Linked DNA regions of Homo sapiens: region 1 is linked to region 2. Evidence: promoter capture Hi-C in 16 types of primary human blood cells and fetal thymus (Javierre and others, 2016). All regions are on one chromosome and are shown on one strand. The core of a region is centred on a gene start or on the middle of the fragment in contact, and the rest is flanking DNA. Distances in the headings are between cores, read along the strand shown. Region 1 overlaps ASCC3 (activating signal cointegrator 1 complex subunit 3). Region 2 holds the start of MCHR2-AS1 (MCHR2 antisense RNA 1).

Region 1 (2,757 bases), core at 99-2,598, 530 kb before region 2:
TGGTGATGTATTAAAGAATGTCAGTGTCATTTAAGAGTTTTAGAATTGCAGAGTTTAAATACATTTAGCAGTGAAAATAGTCCAGGTATTGCTGAGCTTAACAATAGAAGTACTTGGTGAAACCCTTAATGCAATACCTGTACGAAATGTTTTGATATAGCAAATGGTAGATAAAGTCTTGTGTATTACTGTAGAATCTTTTCAAATTTTTAAATGCTTATAATTAGACCAAGAAAACGTTCTCTTTAAATAGACAGTACTGCGCAAGAAGCTTCAGAAAGCTTCTTCTAATCATTTTGAGAAAAAGATGGGTAGATTATAAGTAAATAATTTATGGATATGTTTCAAGGAACTATGAGCATTAATACTATAAGCATACATTGGGGTCTTTTGTATCATCTAAAGTATGCTGGAAACTTATCAACTATAACAACACCGACTGTTAAGGTGACTTGAGTACAATGCTTGGGGTATATAGATCTCAGTGTATCATAGGTAAATAAATATTTCACTTTTTTCTTTTTAGTTCTTTTATAGGCAAGACTGGAAAAAGAGATTTTTTGTTTGTGGAGTCTTACAATGTTTTTAAGATTTTCTGCCAAATCTGAATTATCCACAAACAAATGTAGTTTACTTATTGTAAGTATTAATGTGACCTTATCAAATTCATAGAGATGAAGGTGAAATCTAATTCAGGCTGCATTCCTGGCCAGACTGCCCGGAGTTCATATTCTGCCATAAAAACCTGATGAAGTCGTATTAGTGGATGACTAAAAACAAATAATTCTAAATGAACTTAATCCTGAGTGATTATTCTTCCAAATGCAAAGGACCACACAGTGGTGCAGAATCCTAGTCCTAGATGGTCAAAGCTATATTTTATCTCCCAAAACACCACCTAAAACAAAGCACCATTCTCCACTAGGGAAGTGATACAGAGTTGATGCATTTAGCTTTCCCAAAACTAACACAAATGTGTGGATTTTGAGGTGTTAAACACCTTTACTTACTCTTGTGGATTTATAGCCAATCTCCCTTCAAGGACTATAATATAATTTGGAAGGCTGTTTTCCCTCTGGGTGACTTTACCTGTAAGCTTTTGTATAACAATTTGGTGGTGGTTTGTTGATGATATGATGCTATTATGAAGGATCCTTCTACCCCCTGCTCCTCTCCTTATACCCACATAACAACCCTTTTCCCGGTTGGGGCTGTAGGAAATGAGTAATGCTTAACCCATTTGTGTGATCAATTCACTTAAGCAGCTACTGTGAAATGTTAATCACAACTTTAATTTGTACTGCATTAGCATTTTGATTAACTTGTAGGCTTGCTAGCACACTTGAAGCGCTTTTACTCATAGTTACAGCTCGGAAATGACTTTTTGATTAATTAAGTTTGTTAGACAGCAGCTGAGCTTCCTGAATGCTAACCTTCTGGGGGTAAAAGTTCAGGAGAAAGTTACTATGAACAACTGTTGCTATTGAAAAAGATTCTTATAAATGTACTTATAGCATTTTAATTATTGACAAAATATTGTATCATTACTTGCAAGTGACCTGAACCTTTAAAGGAGTGGCTTTTCTGTCAAGAAAGCTTTTTCAGGTTTTCCCATCATTGTAAAACTTCTGGGAGCTCTTGAACTAAATAGTGCATTTTCTAGCAGATGTCTAACAACTAATGTTTTAACAAGCTGCCTAGGATCAATTTCCGTAATTTTTTTAAATAAACTTTTTGCTTGAGAATAGTTTTACATTTCCAGAAAAGTTGCAAAGATAGTACAAAGTTCCCATATACCTAGAACCTATTTTTCTTCTAATATTGACGTCTTAAATATATTAGTAAGGTACATTTGCTACAATTAATAAGCCAATTTTGGCAAATAATTATTAACTAAAGTCTATACTTATTCACAATTCTTTTTCACCTAATATCCTTTTTCTTTTTAAAATTTTTTTCTTGATATATAATACTTGTACCTATGTTGAGGGTACATATAACATTTTGATACAGGTATACAATGTGTGATGATCCCTAATGCCGTTTTCTATTCTGGAGTCTCATTGTAGATATCCCTTTAAATTCAGTAGTCATTTCTCCGGCTCCTCTTGGCTCTGAAAGTTTCTCAAACTTTCCTGTTTTTGATGATCTTTCCATAGTGTTTTGCATTCTTGTGATACTTTATAAATAACAACTTGGTTTTTATAAATTAATGTAATTTTTCTCATTTTGGCATAAATAAATTTCTTTCTTTTAAACTCTGATGACAATATATCATCCCCATGTCATTTAATTTGAACAGACATGCCTCACTTCAACCTTTGTCATGATCTTATTTTCTCTTTTCTTTTTCTTTTTCTTTCTTTCTTTTTTTTTTTTTTTTTTTTTTTTTTTGAGACAGGGTCTCACTCTGTCACCCACACTGGAGTATAGTAGCCTCAACCTCCTGGGCTCAAACGATCCTTCCACCTCAGGCTCCAAGTAACTAGGACCACAGGCACACACCACCACACCCAGCAATTTTTTTTTAATGGGATCTCACTGTTTCCCAAGCTGGTCTTGAACTCCTGGGTTTAAGTGATTGTCCTGCCTTGGCCTCCCAAAGTGCTGGGATTACAGGCGTGAGCCACTGCTCCTGGCAGTGATCTTATTTTCGTATGTTTATTGTAATCCCTATACTAACACTAGATACATTAAGATGATGACAAGAGATATGGGAAAAAGGAGGAAAGGTTCCTTGAAGAGGAGGAAGGATAA
Region 2 (2,700 bases), core at 133-2,632:
AAATGTACATCAAAATTTTAACTTGGAAAAAAACATAAGGTGTATAAACTTATAGTGGACTGAATTTTTATATTATTAGAGAACTAGAAAAGGCTTTTCCACAAGGGTATTGTAGAGGGCGTTTAGATAATCAGCCTAATAAATGGGTCAAGTGTTTCTTCTTGTTTTTCTTTCCTAAGAGATGCTTTGAAATCTCCCACTTTGAAATCCAAATTCTCTTTAAATTTAATCTCCCATCCTCATATCTCCTTGATTTTTCTGAGAGATTTTAGAGATGATGTCTTTTTGCACAAACACTAACTCTAAGGCGACTTCCAGTTCTGAAATGTATAATCATTGACTCTACACTTGCTTTTAAAAATTCTGATCTGTTGAATTTTGAAATTTTAACCAATTTCACTAACCTTTCAAGTTTTTCTCATTTTCCTAACTTAATGTGAAATACAGGACATTTTGCCATGCCACTCTGACTACTCATCTTATAGATGAAGGAAGGATTCTGAAAGGTGCTCTAATGACTATAATTATCATAGGGACCACATATTGAGCACTAACTACATGGCAGGCCTGATTTGAGGGCTTTTGCATATGTCAAGCCAGTGAAGCCTCTTAGCATCCCTGGGAGGGCAGTTTTACAATTCTGGTAGTACCAAATGAGCAACTGAGGATGAGAAACATTAAAGAACCTGCCCGAGGTCATATGCCTAACAGTAAATGATAAAGCTGAGGTGGAATGCGGGGCGGGCTGCCTGTCTCCAAAATCGTATGAGGCTCCCTTGGGTGGAAAGTGATCCAACTCCAGCTTCGTCCTTGTCACCTTATTTGCTAAGTAGCTACTAAGGCCAGCAGATTTGATCAGGGTGCAAGCATGAAGCTAAAGATCATTATAAAGCAGTTGTACTGGGTGGATTAAAAGTTCGTGAAAACAAAACAAGTTCCTTGGTGGTATTATGGGTTTCTTCTTTCCTCTCTCCTTTCCCCTTTCCCTTCCTTTAAACCTTTGGTACATCAATAAACACTTGTTCATATAAAATGGAGGTCGAGTTTCTATTACTGCTTAGCTGAAAACACCTACAAATGTTCACAGGAACTTTAGTGACTACCAGTCTAGATAAGCACTTGAAAATAAGAAAGAACAAGCTCCGCGAGAGCAGAGATGCCTTCAGATTTTATTCGCGAAGGCACCCCACGCTCCTAGAAAAGAGCACGACGCACCCGATGCTCGGATTGGATGAAGTGGCAAAGGTAACCCCGCTGGTTCGGGCGTTTGGCTGTTCCTGTGCCTGGACCCCCGCTTTGGAAATGGAGGTGGGGCTGGCTCCCAACCTGTCTCAGAGACCCTCGCACTCCTCCCCCACCTTCCGTCAGCTGGGACCCGCTGAGAGCCGTTTTTGGTCACGCGCGCTTAGCGGATAGACCTGCAGTCCCGCAGAGAGGAAGGGCGCCCGGGCTGTCCGCCGCGCGGGGAGGACGCGAGCACCCAGGTGACGTCCCGCGGGCTGCCGCGCGAGGGCCGGGCTCTGGCGTGGGCGCGCCCCAGGGCCCGTGGGCTGCGCGCCCGGGAAGGTCTGGCGCCTGGTCCACCAGTCGCCCCTCCCCGGGGCTGGCTCGCCGGTAGTGTCTGATTGCTGGGGGATCCCCCTCCATCCCCAGAAGGTACAAAGTTTGGCTCTGTGGAGGCACCTACGAGACGGAGCGGGGCGGGTGGGTGGCCGGCTGGTTTCACACTCGGCAAAGAAAATGGAAACACAGGTGGGAAAAGAAAAAGGGAGTGGCTTTCCGGGAAGCAGCGGCCCCGACCGAGACCGCTGGAGCGCGCCGGGCTAGTTCATCCCGGCTCTCCATGGGGACTAAAGAGGCTGAACTGAAGTGGCGAAGGCGAGGAGGCGATCACTGGCTTGTTTGCTAAGAGTTCGGGAAGGCTTTTTTGAACTAGAAAAGACAAATTCAGTTCTTCCTCCAGGTAGATCCCCGTGTCCCCTGTACGCGCCTCCGGACGGCCTTCTGTGAAGCCCCCATTCCCACTTAGTTAACTTAGTTAATATTATTCCTCTGTCACAGGACTCCTGCACGGTCAGGTCATCTGAACTCCTCAGTGGCCCTAGGGAAGTTAGTTAGCGGCTGTCAGAGAACTGGGGAAAGTAGGCAGGTGGTAGCCTAGGCCCTTTGCAACTCAGCTGGGGCTTCTGACAGCCTTTGAAAAATTCTTTCTAAAAATGTGCTTCTTGTATTTTTTAATGAGGCTTTGCCCCAAAGCCTAATATCTTTGTTTGAGGTGGAATCTTCTTATTAAAATGGCCCTGAAGCTACCACTAAAGAATCAGGCATGAACACAAAATCTTCTGGATTTGAGGAATGCGCAGTTCTAATTTCATAGAACTTAGCTCAGCGCAAATGGGGAGGCAATCTGTTTTCAATGAATGTTTTCTGACTTCTTAATAATGCATTTTTCTACTTAAATAATAACCTGTTTGTTAGTATAACTTAGTGGGTAGAGATGGGGGGGTGGGGATGCTGACTGGCTGGAAATGACTGGATTGGGTTGGTAACCCATTATTTGTGTTTCATTTGGATCAGGCATATGTTTAATGTCACAATTGAATTGGCCTTTTGCAGAGCAGACATGCCCTCACTTACTGTCTTATGGCTATGACAAGATAATTACAAGGGCAATGTTATTCGACTCTTAGCCTAACACAG

The links. The method cuts DNA at HindIII sites, captures the fragments that hold promoters and counts their contacts. A CHiCAGO score of 5 or more calls a contact.
Region 1: a fragment that was not itself captured here is called in contact with the fragment with the promoter of MCHR2-AS1 in region 2 in 8 of 17 cell types (M0 macrophages, erythroblasts, M2 macrophages and 5 more); the score reaches 8.8 in M0 macrophages.

What each region holds. Positions count from the first base shown.
Region 1 is chr6:100,524,794-100,527,550 of GRCh38, reverse strand. The region is part of intron 37 of ASCC3 (activating signal cointegrator 1 complex subunit 3); the gene reads left to right. Among named protein-coding and RNA genes, the nearest start is that of SIM1, 61 kb to the right of the region's middle. The HindIII fragment of the contact is 500 bases long and covers 1,099-1,598 here.
Region 2 is chr6:99,992,720-99,995,419 of GRCh38, reverse strand. MCHR2-AS1 (MCHR2 antisense RNA 1) reads right to left here and starts at 1,382. Exons shown (of 3, transcript NR_038384.1): 1 at 1,216-1,382. It overlaps MCHR2 (melanin concentrating hormone receptor 2), which reads left to right and starts at 1,197. Exons shown (of 6, transcript NM_001040179.2): 1 at 1,197-1,484. The HindIII fragment of the contact is 7,930 bases long and covers 1-2,700 here.